Regions from separate parts of the Homo sapiens genome. Here region 2 is linked to region 1. Evidence: promoter capture Hi-C in 16 types of primary human blood cells and fetal thymus (Javierre and others, 2016). All regions are on one chromosome and are shown on one strand. Each heading gives the region's core, a stretch centred on a gene start or on the middle of the fragment in contact. The rest is flanking DNA. Distances are from core to core; before and after follow the strand shown. Region 1 holds the start of CPSF4L (cleavage and polyadenylation specific factor 4 like). Region 2 overlaps SDK2 (sidekick cell adhesion molecule 2).

Evidence for each region. Contacts are between HindIII fragments. The CHiCAGO score rates a contact against its expected background, and 5 or more counts as called.
Region 2: a fragment that was not itself captured here is called in contact with the fragment with the promoter of CPSF4L in region 1 in 6 of 17 cell types (monocytes, neutrophils, M1 macrophages and 3 more); the score reaches 10.4 in monocytes.

What each region holds. Positions count from the first base shown.
Region 1 is chr17:73,258,066-73,264,451 of GRCh38, reverse strand. CPSF4L (cleavage and polyadenylation specific factor 4 like) reads left to right here and starts at 2,572. Exons shown (of 6, transcript NM_001129885.1): 1 at 2,572-2,736; 2 at 3,469-3,519. The coding sequence starts at 2,634. The HindIII fragment of the contact is 15,055 bases long and covers 1-6,386 here.
Region 2 is chr17:73,358,684-73,365,203 of GRCh38, reverse strand. SDK2 (sidekick cell adhesion molecule 2) reads left to right here. Exons shown (of 45, transcript NM_001144952.2): 39 at 3,359-3,520. Among named protein-coding and RNA genes, the nearest start is that of CDC42EP4, 50 kb to the right of the region's middle. RefSeq lists enhancers at 1-217, 682-1,657, 3,475-4,146. The HindIII fragment of the contact is 1,781 bases long and covers 728-2,508 here.

The sequences.
Region 1 (6,386 bases), core at 1,323-3,822:
CCTAGACCTAGACTTTTTGGGTAGCCAGTTCAATTTACTGCAGAAGGTATTTTGAATAAGCAAAAACTATGAATGCAAGCCCCGTTGTTTGTGTGCCAAACTAATGATGAGCCACTGGGAGAAGGGATTTCATCCATGTGACACCCACCACACACCTCTGCTGGCCAGGCACCTAGAAGTGGGATGGGAAGCCCCTGGTGGAGGAGCAGAGAAGCTGGGGTGCTGGAGGGAGGAGTCTTAACCAGGAGTCTCCTTCATGTTCATCCCTCATCAATTAACTCTTGCAGGCCACCAGAGTAGCAGAAAGATCTCTGGGCTATATCCCCAGGGCTCTCATGATTTTAAAAAATCATCCCCAGGCTGGGCACGGTGGCTCATGCCTGTAATCCTAGCACTTTGGGAGGATGAGGCAGGCAGATCACCTGAGGTCAGGAGTTCGAGACCAGCCTGGCCAATATGGCGAAACCCTGTCTCTACTAAAAGTACAAAAATTAGCCAGGTGTGGTGGTGTGGGCCTGTAATCTCAGCTACTCAGGAGGCTGAGGCAGGAGAATTGCTTGAACCTGGGAGGCAGAGGTTGCAGTGAGCCGAGATCGCGCCACTGCACTCCAGCCTGGTCAATAGAGCAAGACTCAGTCTCAAAAAAAAAAAAAAAAAAAAAATTCATCCTCTAAGCAGCCCCTGTCCAGTCTTCCCCCGACCATCCCTCAGAGAGCCATGTACAGTTCTCAGAGCCCTGTGGTGGCTCTGCTGCCTTCACGATCACTTCCCCCCAAAGCTGGCCCCAGCAGGCCCCCCAGAGTTGGGTCCCTTCTCAGCTCTTAAGCCTCATTGCCCCCATTCCACCTCTTTACCCCCGCTTCTGCCAAACCAAACCCTTGAGCGCCTCCTCAGCCTTCACATTGCTCCATGCCCCAACCTTCATACTGCTGGCCTTCTTCCAGAACATTCTCTCCCCATCATCATGACTCTCCATTGAGAGAGCTCTGCCTGCTACCCCTTCCTGCCCTGCTGGGCCCCTCATGCCTCCATCGCATTATTGTGTGAATGGCTAATGTCCCCTCCTTGATGGGGCCATCTCTGAGGATAGGGACGTGGCCCTAGTGCAGAGATGCTCAGGGATGTTTAGGGAAGGAAGTCATCAAGAGACCTAGATGTGAACCCCATCCATAGCGCCTCCCAAACCATGTGGTCTTGGCCTCCCTGGGCTTTGATTCCCTCATCAGTCCTGCCTGCGCTGCCAGGCTTCTGTGAGCCTTTAATGAGCCTGTGTTGACAGATGAATGCATTCTTGGGACTACTAATCAACGCATACAACTAAGGCCAAGAGAAGCCAGGGTTTCTACCCCAGGGACCCCCTTGGCCCCACCCTCTAGCCCTGGAGCTGGGTCCCTCTGCCTCTCCCAGGATGCAGTCAGAGGCCTGAGCTTCTGGAAACTCTTGGATCTCGTCCCTGCTCCTCCCAGTCCCACCTCGGCTCCAGGTGTCTATCTCTCCAGCTATTTTCTTTTCTGATCTGGAGTTCAAAAGAACAGATCTAGGAGCAACAGCCACGGGGAACAACAGCCAGCAGGCTAGTTCATGTTGGCCCAGCTGAGAGCCTGCGGGGCTGCCCACCTCTCCCTGCTGGGTTTGGGCACCCAGAAAGGAGGGCGTATGGGTTCTGGTTCTATGGGCATTAAAAGCCAATGTGACTGAGAACAGCAGCTCTAGTTAGAGGCAAGGCCAGTTTGGGGCCAGAGCAGGGGGAGGGGGAACCTGGTCTAATTAGAGCCCTAACATGCTCCTTTGAAAGCATTGTCAGATGTCCCCAGCCCTGCAGGCAGGGGTGGTGTAATAATAATAAAACAACATTTGCATAGAGATTTCATTTATAAAGCACTTTCTCAGGGGTGGGGTGGCACTGGGTGGCCCTGTGGAATCCTGGCTGGGAGGCCGCCCTGGCCTTGGTCGGTTCCGCCCTCCCGCCAAGCTGGCGATTGTGTGCGAGGTAAACAAAGCGCCATTCATCCAACTGTTTCAGTTCCTCTCCTCTTCATTCCTTTTTCCCTGTCTCCCACGAAGAGCTCACTCGGGGCTTGTCACTCAGGCCAGAAAAGGGGTGTCAGGGGCCCCAGAGGGAGACCCCTTCCCTCATGGGAAGAAGCGGGGAGGTGGGACGGCTCCCTCCCTCTGCAAACCCCCACCACCCCCAGCTCTGGCAGAATAACAGCCTTGCTGCGGTTGGTTTGTGCAACTCTTTGCTAACCTGTGGCTGTGTCTTCATGGACAAAGTATGAGCCCAGGTTTGGTAATGTCTGTGTGCACGCCACGTTTGTGTTCGGTAACATGCAAAGATAAGCAGTTTGTGGGGCTCTGCGAATCCCTCCCTATCCGAGTGAGCCTTGTGTACACAGTGTGGGGGTGAGGGGCCCTGGGGTGTCTGCCCCTGCACTGGGTGGGCCGGGTGAGGCAGCTGGGCCCTGCTCCTGTACAGCCCAGGCTGGAGCGTCCCCTGCAGTCACCTGGCCACTGGCACCCTGGGGTGAAGGGGGAGGCATTGGGCGCTGGCCCCTTAAGGGCCTCTGATGAGCTATATTGGGCCCACCTGCCTGGGTTCCAGCAGCTTCCGCAGCCCCAGCAGGAGACGGAAGATGCAAGAGGTCATTGCGGGGCTAGAGCGGTTCACCTTTGCCTTCGAGAAGGATGTCGAGATGCAGAAGGGCACTGGGCTCCTGCCTTTCCAGGGCATGGACAGTGAGTGAGGGTGGGGCCACTTTCCCTCCCCTACCTTCTCTGTTTTTTTTTCTTTGAGACGGAGTCTCGCTCTGTAGCCCAGGCTGGAGTGTAGTGGCACAATCTCGGCTCATTGCAAGCTCTGCCTCCTGGGTTCACGCCATTCTCCTGCCTCAGCCTCCCGAGGAGCTGGGACTACAGGCGCCCGCCACCACGCCCAGCTGATTTTTTGTATTTTTAGTAGAGACCGGGTTTCACCATGTTAGCCAGGATGGTCTCAATCTCCTGACCTCGTGATCCGCCCGCCTTGGCCTCCCAAAGTGCTGGGATTACAGGCATGAGCCACCACGCCCAGCCTCCCTCCCCCTTCCTTCTCTACAGGCCTCTCTGCTCAACTCCCTGATGCGACCGCCCCTTCTCTGTCTCTCTCTTCTGTGGCTTCGGGGCAACCCATTTTCCAGACTGAGAAAGAGAGGCACAGAGAGACGGTGAATTGAGAGAAGCCACACTGGCCTCCCGAGCTCCTGGGCCAGGCTTGAGCCCCTCGAGCTCCTCTGTTTCAGAGTTGGGGGGTTAAGGGTTGAGGTCTGCTGGCTGGCTCTGCAGGTTAACCTCTACAGGGCCCAGATTTGGGATCCCATAGGCCAGAGCCTGGGGGAGGTCTAGGTGGGACATGCCGATGGAGGTGGAGGCTTCCGGAACAGCTGCAGCCTCTGGGGAAGCTACCTTCTCCGTTCCCTCTTCTCCTTCCAGAGTCGGCCTCAGCTGTGTGCAACTTCTTCACTAAAGGGCTCTGTGAGAAAGGTGAGTTAGCAGACAGGCCTGGGCCCCAAGCTGGGTGAGTGTAGGGTCTGTCTGAGCTACACCCAGCAGGGGCTCTGCCTGGCCTGGGATAGGGTGTCGAATTTGCACCTGGGGAGGGAAAATTGGGATGGAACGGAATTTTATTTTTATTTTATTTATTTATTTTTAGATGGAATCTCGCTCTGTTGCCCAGGCTAGAGTGATCTGGCGTGATCTCAACTCACTGCAACCTCTGCCTCCTGGGTTCAAGCGATTCTCCTTCCTCAGCCTCCCGAGTAACTGGAACTACAGGTGCATGCCACCAAGCCCGGCTAATTTTTGCATTTTTAGTAGAGATGGAGTTTTGTCATGTTGGCCAGGCGGGTCTCAAACTCCTCACCTCAGGTGATCCACCTGCCTGGGCCTCCCAAAGTGCTGGGATTACAGGCGTGAGCCACCATGCCCGGCCATGGAGCAGAATTTTAGACTTACAGGTAGACAAAGGATAAGTGGTTGGATCCACCGAGCAGCCTGCCCCTCCCCTAAGATTTTCCCGCCTCAGCAGCAGTCTTCATAGTTTGCAGTTCGCATCAGGGTAACCAGGCTGCCTGGAAAGGGGTATTTTTTTCTTTCTGCCTTGCTGGGATGGGCGTGTGTCTGAGCTTTGGCCTGTGCATTCCCAGGAGGCTCCAGCTTCTTAATGTTTTTCTTGATTTCCTCCCAGCTAGAAGAGAGGCATCCTTCTCCCCCAGTCCCCTGCTCTGACTCAGTTTGTAAACTGGTCAATTGTCTCATCCATTCCCTATGCCCTGAGGTAGCACCTGCCACCATCTTTGAAATGCTATCAAAAAGCATCCTCCACTTCTCTCCTGCCCTGACTTTGGGTCAATACTGTCTTCCTAGGCCCCTCTCCCCAAATGCAGCCATTCTGGGAAGGCCTGATTCAAATATAAGAGTTTTCAACTTTTCTTCTGGCTCATGGCTCATGTAGAGGCTCTTTCAACAGAAATATACAATTGCCAAAAAAAACTGGCTTCCAGTTTTAGGGTTTCCCTGTCTTCCTCCCGCTTGCCTATACATTTAGGTTAAGAAATCTCACTGGTGTGAGAGTTTAGGACATGTTTTCTGATCCAAATGAGTCTGTCCCTGGAAGCTGGGGGGCTGGAGGGGACCAGGAAAGGAGGACCTGGGGCCATGTTCGCCCACCTGCCTTGTTTGTCTTGGGGCCAGCCCTAGACCATACAGGGAGAAGGGAAATGGGATCACTGGTCGCCCAAGGCCTTGTGCACCCAGGACCCTGCAGGCTCAATGTGGACTGAGTGGCATCTCCTCAGCTCAGCCCAACCAGTCCCTAGAGCAGTGGTTCCTAGCAACACCCTTCTGCAAAGAAAGAAAGCTATTATGGTGGAAGGTCAGAACCAAGCAAGTCAATAGCCAGGGGTGGAGGTTAGGGGTATTTAAAAAGAGCACCTTGGCCGGGGGAGTAGGCTCACACTTGTAATTCCAGCACTTTGAGAGGCAGAGGCTGGAGAATCGCTCAAGACCAGCCTGGGCAACATAGCGAGACCCCATCTCTACAAAACATAATTTTTTTTTTTTAAAAAAGGAAAAATGGAAAGAACACCTCCCCTAGCCCCCAAATTATGTCAGAGAACTGGCCAGGCATGAGGCTGGACCTGCTTAGAAACTCAGGAACTGCCAGCCTGGATGACATGGCAAAGCCCTGTCTCTACAAAAAATAAAAAAATTAGCTCAGTGTGGTGGTGCATGCCTGTAGTCCCAGCTACTCGGGAGGCTGAGATGGGAGAACTCCTGAGTCTAGGAGGTTGAGGCTACAGTAAGCCATGACTTTGCCATTGCACTCCAGCCTGGGCAACAGACTAAGATCCTGTCTCAAATAAATAAATAAATTAAAGAAACTTAGGAACTGGGTGTCCTTCCTGCTAATAGCAAGGCAGACTTGAGTGAAGATGATAAAGCAGTTAAATGTAACATTTCCATGGAATATTCCTTATAAATCATTACAAAGTTGGCTCTTCTGTCACCCTGTTAGGTCTCTGGAATCGGGAAGCATAACATTTGATGTTTTTAAAGATGGGAATTCAACACACCCTTACTGAGCACTTACTATGTGCCAGGGGCTGGGCTGGGTGTGGGGATTCTGGGCTGGAAAGCCTGGCCCCGCTCCCTGGCAGGACGAGAGGGGGTGTTAGGCACTCTGGGAATGAAAAGGAGGCAGCTGTTCTGAGCCCAGGTACTTCCCTGGAGAAGGGCATGGCACTCCAGGCAGATGGGAAGGATGGGCAAAGGTGTGGTAGTGGGAACAGCTGTGCTTTAAGAAGAGCTTGCCCTGGCCAGTCACGGTGGCTCAAGCCTGTAATCCCAGCACTTTGGGAGGCTGAGGCGGATGGATCACCTGAGATCAGGAGTTCGAGACCAGCCTGGCCAACATGGTGAAACCCCGTCTCTACTAAAAATAAAAAAAATAGCCGGGTGTAGTTGCAGGTGTAATCCCAGCTACTTGGGAGGCTGAGGCAGGAGGATCACTTGAACCTGGGAGGTGGAGGTTGCAGTGAGCTGAGACCGTGCCATTGCTCTCTAGCATGGGCAACAGAGCGAGACGCCATCTCAAAAACAAGAGCTTGGCTGGGCGCGGTGGCTCACGCCTGTAATCCCAGCACTTTGGGAGGCCGAGGTGGGCAGATCACAAGGTCAGGAGATCGAGACCATCCTGGCTAACACGGTGAAACCCTGTCTCTACTAAAAAATACAAAAAATTAGCAGGGCGTGGTGGCTGGCGCCTGTAGTCCCAGCTACTCAGGAAATGGAGGCAGGAGAATGGCGTGAACCCAGGAGGCGGAGCTTGCAGTGAGCCAAGATCGCGCCGC
Region 2 (6,520 bases), core at 369-2,868, 100 kb before region 1:
CTCATCTCAGCGCCCATCACAGCCACTACACATGAGTGAGATTCGGTGAGAGTCTCCCCATCTTATAAACACGGAAACTGAGTCCCAGACAAGGGAAAGTGCATTTCCAAGGTAAAACAACAGCAAGTTGAGGGCAGAGTTGGAAGAGAGATCCAGGTCTCCTAACTTCCAGGCAGAGAATCGTTAAATATATTCTTCCCCCTTTGGTCAACGGAAACAGGGAGGAAAGGAAGGGAAACCTGAGTGGACAGGGCTCTGTTGAGACCATAAAGAAGGGGGGCAGCCAAGGACGGTGGCTCACGCCTGTAATGACAGCACTTTGGGAGGCTGAGGCGGGTGGATCACCTGAGGTCAGGAGTTCCAAGACCAGCCTGGCCAACATGGTGAAACCCCGTCTCTACTGAAAATACAAAAATTAGCCGGGTGTGGTGGTGGGTACCTGTAGTCTCAGCTACTCGGGAAGCTGAGGCAGGAGAATCGCTTGAACCCGGCAGGCAGAGGTTGCAGTAAGCCGGGATCACGCCACTGCACTCCAGCCTGGGCGACAGAGCTAGATTCCATCTCAAAAGGAAAAAAGAAAAGAAAAAGAAGAGGGGAGCCCCTGAGGGTCCTACTTTGCCCTTTCCCAAACCTTAGGGTTCTCAGCTTTACTGTGGGTTAGTCCTTCTTTAGCTTTGGTGGGAGTCAGGAACCCCTTGGAGAATCTGATGAGAATCTGACCAAAGCTTCAGAGCCTCTCCCCAGGAAGATACACAAGACCAAGGAGGTCCCTGCACCCCCCACTGCTATCTGCGGACCCCAGATCAAGAGCCCTGCTCTGCAAATGACCTCGCTCTTGTCCTTAACCCTGTTCATCTGACTGGTCTTCTGACCCCTTCCTCCGGGCCCCAGCTGGGAACCTGCCCATTTCTGGGCTCCTAGGCTGGGCTGCGCAGCCCCTGACAATGGGCATCTGGTACCTGCCAGCTTTCTACCCCTGGTAACATGCCAAGAAATCCCTGCCATTTTGTTATGAACAACCATCCTATGAGGATGGGATTTAGGCAGGAAGGAAACTGCGTTCCTCACTGCCTGGGACTAGTCCCAGCCAGGTGCTGGGGGTGTGGCTGACCTCTGGAGCCACCCCTCTCACTCTCACCCCCTCCAATCACGGAGCCTGGCAAGAACAAGGGGCAGAGACCTGGGAACATCGTTGTGACCAGCAGTTCTCGGTGAGCCTAGGGAACAATGGCCCTCAGTCTTCCCTGCTACCACCTGGGTGCCAGCAGCTCGTTCTGCAAAGGGGAGCTGTGTGTTAGAACACCAGGGGGGAGCCAGGCCCCAGCAGGAGATCCAGTCAGGTGCAGGGCCGGAGTGGGGCAGAGGACAGCAGTCCCCGAGACAAGGTACAGGGGGCCAGCACAAGCCCTCTTCACAGGGGCCTCAACCTGGCCTGTCCAGGACCCTCTCAACTTGAGGATGTGAGCTCTTTGCCTTCCAATTCCACAGTCTGGTGGGATCTGGACTGTGTGGCTCAACTCCACACCCCTACACATTCCCATCTTCCCATAATAGTTCAGTTAATAAGTACAGCAAGACAAGGCCCCGCCTGGACAGCCCAGTGTCCACACCCCAGTTCATCCTGGGTTCAGGTCAATAGCAAACCAGCCTCACAAAAGCCCAGCAGCCCCCACTGTCCTGTAGGGAAAACCAAGGTCCAGGCAGATGAGGGCTTTGTTCAGAATTGTCAAGGAGCAGGTAGCCAGAGTCCCTGTTCCTGGTCCCAGGGTCATTTCATTCTTTCAGGAAGCCCCTCTGAGCCTACATTGTTCCATCATTTAGTAATCCACTTAGCGGCCGGGTGCAGTGGCTCACACCTGCAATCCCAGCACTTCGGGAGGCCGAGGCGGTGGATCACCTGAGTTCAGGAGTTCGAGACCAGCCTGACCAACGTGGCAAAATCCTGTCTCTACTAAAAATACAAAATTAGCTGGGTGTGGTAGTGGACGCCTACTCGGGAGGCTGAGGCAGGAGAATCGCTTGAACCCAGGAGGCGGAGGTTTCAGTGAGCTGAGATCGCGCCATTGCACTCCAGCCTGGGCAACAATAGTGAAAATCCACCTCAAAACGATAATATTAGTAATCCACTTAGTCAATAAATAGGTCAGGCACCTACATGCTCTGTTATTTTACTTAAAGCTCATAGCATCCCTGCCTAAGATGCTGTGGACACCCTCACTCGGCAGAACAAACTGAAGCCAAGTTAAGGGACATGCCGGGGCCGGCGCCATCACTGGGTCTGAGCCCAGCCTATTGGCTGCAAGGCCTGTCTTTCACTGGTGACTGGCGTGCTCGATGGACATGGGAAATGACACTAACCCCGGCTCCCAGGGAGGCTGGCAGTCAGGAGTATTTGGATTCGCGAAGCACAGAGTGCAAACCCCCACCTCCTGAAAGCTGGCTCAAGCGTCCCCTCTAGTTGCTGTGATTTGGGGTGCTGAGGCATCCTCACTTTTGCCCTAAAAAGCTTGGTGGACTGGGCATAGTGGTTCATGCCTATAATCCCAGCACTTTGAGAGGCCAAGGTGGGAGGATCACTTGAGGCCAGGAGTTCGCGACCAGCCTGGGCAACATAATGAGACCCTGTCTCTACAAAAATTTAAAAATTAGCCAGGCATGATGGTGCACACCTACAGTCTTAGCTACTTGGAAGGCTGAAAGTGGCAGGACGGCTTGAACCCAGGAGGTCGAGGCTACAGTGAGCCATGATTGTGCCTGAGCAACAGAGCAAGACCTTGTCTTAAAAAAAAAAAAAAAATTGTGGCAGATATAGGTGCTGGAGGGCCATGTGAGCTCCTGGCTGAACCCCAGAGGTGGAGCTGGAGTGGGGCTCAGGTGGAGGACCTGGTCAAAAGTGTGTCCCCGCAACTCTGGGCTTTTGGTATTTTTATGGAAGCACTTCCTGAAAAAGGATATAATTCTAGTCCCATGGGATGCTGCATAAGGGAATAGCAATGGAGCCGAAACATATTTGGGGTGCAGAGGTTACATTAAACAGGATGGCGAGTGTTCTCTTTTCTGTAGATGCTGATGATGGACCCTGTGGCTACTCAGTAGACACAGACAGTAGTAGCTTTTCCCAAACATACTGAACCATGGAGCCGTTCTCCCTGAGAACAGCAGGCAGGACCGTGCTGTGAGAAACACAGCATGGGCAATGTGGTTGTGTGGGCTGGGGGTGCATTTCAGCCTGACCTCAAGGAGTGAGGCCCCTACCCAGGGTCCCGGGGCCCAGGCCACGGCCGCTTCCCCTTCCCCATGGCCTCCAGTGCCCTCGGTGGGCCCTGTGCCCAGTCCCCACTTGCTGTGCCTCCCCCAGGAGTCAGCAAGATCGTGACCGTGGACGTGAAGGGGAACAGCCCCCTGTGGCTGAAGGTGAAGGACCTGGCGGAGGGGGTGACCTACAGGTTCCGCATCAGAGCCAAGACCTTCACCTACGGGCCGGAGATCGAAGCCAACGTCACCACGGGCCCCGGAGAAGGTAGGAGAGCAACGGACCAGGCATGTCTTCCACACGGCGGTTCAGCGTCCCCAGTCAGAAGGGGCCCCCGGTGTCAAGAGCTGTGCTGGACCCTGGAAACAGAGTGGAGGACAGAGCTCACTCTTTCCCCTGGTGCCCAGTGACCCCTCCCCCCGCTCCCTCCTCCCGGGCTCCACGCTTTGATTAATGTGTCCTCAGGTTCCTCAAGCCACAAACCCTGGAGCAGCGCCCCCTCCTCTCCCACTTAGGCCCAGCCCACAGGCCTGGCCTGGCCACTGCGCCTGCTTCGTTCTTTCTCTCCCTGCTAATTGCATGGCCTCCTTTACTTCCGTCCTGGAAGGATGCAGCCTGGCAGGTGCCCCTGCCTTTCGCCCAGCCAGAGCCATCTTCCCACGCCCCTGAACCACCCCTACCCTCCAGGCAGCGGTTCTCAGAGCAGGGCGCACTAAAATGCACGTTCCCAGGGTGGATGCTCCGAGGGGTTGATTTCCTGGGGCTGAGGTGGGACCTGGCAGTCTGCACTTAGACAAAAGCCCCTGGAGGCCGTGACAAAGTGGCACCTTGAGAAACACCTGATGGAGCAGGTCACCTATTCACAGCCAGGGCCCTGCCTCCCCCACCTCACCACCCACCCCCTCCGCAGAACGCCCTTTTGTGTGTAACTGCCCGCCCCTCACCCCAGGAAGTCTTCCTTAATCTCCTGTATTGTTTCTGTTGTTGTTGTTTGGGCTTTTTTTTTTTTTTTCTGGAGACAGAGTCTCGCTCTGTCATCCAGGCTGGAGTGCAGTGGTGCAATCTCAGTTCACTGCAACCTCCACCTCCCGGGTTCAAGCAATTCTCAAGCTTCAGCCTCCCAAGTAGCTGGGATTACAGGTGATTTCTACCACGACCAGCTAATTTTTGTATTTTTAGTAGAGACAGGGTTTGGCCAGGCTGGTCTCCAACTCCTGACCTCAAGTGATCCACCTGCTGCAGTCTCCCAAAGTGCTGGGATTACAGGCATGAGCCACTGTGCCCAATCGCCTCCTTTAAATGTCCTCTTCACCTCCCTTCCCCTCCCACCCCTCATCCCCCCAGGCATTTGCCATGGTCAAGGTTTAGCCCTCCAAAGTCCCTGTTACTGGTCAGTGTAGAATGTCCTGTCCTGAACACAAAAGTCACCTCCCAGACCACTCTGCTGCCTCCCTCCCTAAGAAGGGGTACAGCCCATCCTGGACTTCCCCTAAAATCCCATCTCCTCCTCTGCCCACCCCCTTCAGCCAAGAATGGCGCAGGCCTCCCCTCCCCAGCAGTCCCAATTAGCCTGACTCAGGAAGAGAGTCTTCCCCTAATGGCTTAGTCTGGCTGCGCTTCACTTTTTCTTTCTGGCCAGTCACTTTCTATTCCCCACAGTCTGGTTCTGCAAAGAAGCCCTGTAGCTCTAGGGCAAACTCAGGACAAAGCCTGCAGGAGGCAGCCCAGGAGCCACCCAGCCGCTGTCCTTTCATCTGCCTCCAGCCCCGCCCCGCGCTGCCTCTCACCTGAGCCAGCTTCCTGGGAAACAAAAGTAGGAGAGAGAGCTGGCAAGCAACTGAGGACCAAGCGTTGGCAGTGGCCTGGGGACAGGAGAGGGCTGTGCGGAGGACAGGCTGTTCTATCCTGAGGCTTGAAGTGTCCCAGGCTGAGAGGTGGGGAGGTGGGAGGAGATAAAGGGCAGAGGGTTCAGAGAAGGTAGTGGAGGGCACTCTGAGAAAGAAAGAACCAGCCGGGTGTGGGGGTTCACGCCTGTAATCCCAACATTTTGGGAGGTGGAGGCGGGTGGATTGCCTGAGCCCAGGAGTTCAAGACCAGCCTGGGCAATACAGCAAAACCCCATCTCTACAAAAATAAAATTATCCAGGCATACTGGTGAATACCTGAAGTCCCAGCTACTCAGGAGGCTGTCGTGGGAGAATCGTTTGAGCCCAGGAGGTGGAGGCTGCAGTGAGCTGTGATCGTGCCCCTGCACTCCCGCCTGGGCAACAGAGTGAGAACGTGTCTCAAAAAAAGAAATAAAGAAGCCATCCTCCCACATGGTGTGGGTGCAGGGGGCGGTCTGCAGGCGGGGAACATGCAGCCAGGCAGTGGCTGGACTCGCTGGAAGCTCCTGGCCCCGGAGAAGGTGCAGGCTCTGTCCTCAGCCCTGAGTACTGTCCTGTGCAGGATGAGTACAGGGTCCTGAGGGCTGCCTGCCCTACCATACTCCCTCAGGCGTGTCCACCCCACCTGACCCCGCAGTTACTCTGCCCTTGTGCTGCAGACAGGCTGCTCCATAGGGAAGGAAGGAAATGGTGCCCTCCAATGCTGTGGGGTGGGCATAGGGGCCAGGCGGGGCTGCCAGGCTGTGTGAGCGATGGGGTGGGCATAGTGGCCGGGTGGGGTTGCCAGGCTGTGTAAGGAGGGCCTGCTGGCCCTCCAGGGCCCTGGGGGAGCATCAGTGTGATGCTAGACTCTGCTCCACAGAGACCCCCCACCAACAAACCAGGTGGCCACCCACTCATGCACTGGTTCCCTCCCTCATCCCCTAAGCACAGAGGAAGCACCTACTGTGTACCCAGCTCTGGGGGTACAGAGCCCCACCTTTGGTGGGGAGCAGGATTGGAGGTGACAGCATGTGGGGTCGGGATTCTGGACGGGCACCCCCAAGAGAAGGGGCTCAGAGCCCCTTGCAGACAGATACCTGGCTCACTCCTCTCATTGCTGGAGTCACCTCCTCTCATCTGCTCCAGCTCCTAGGGCCGGCTCCCTCACTGGCCCACATCCCAGGCTGCTCCTGACGTACCTTCATTCCAGGAGCGCGGCATGGGGCCCAGTCCTTCCTCCCTCCTCCTAGCAGCACAGGCCCCAAGGCCTCCTGGGGCATAAACCCCCTCTCCCCTTGTCTAACCTAATAGGAAATGCAGTTGGGGTTGGGGGATTTTAGGCAGGAATGAGGGAGGGCGGACATCATATCACCTACCAGGAGGGAGAAACTGGACTCTT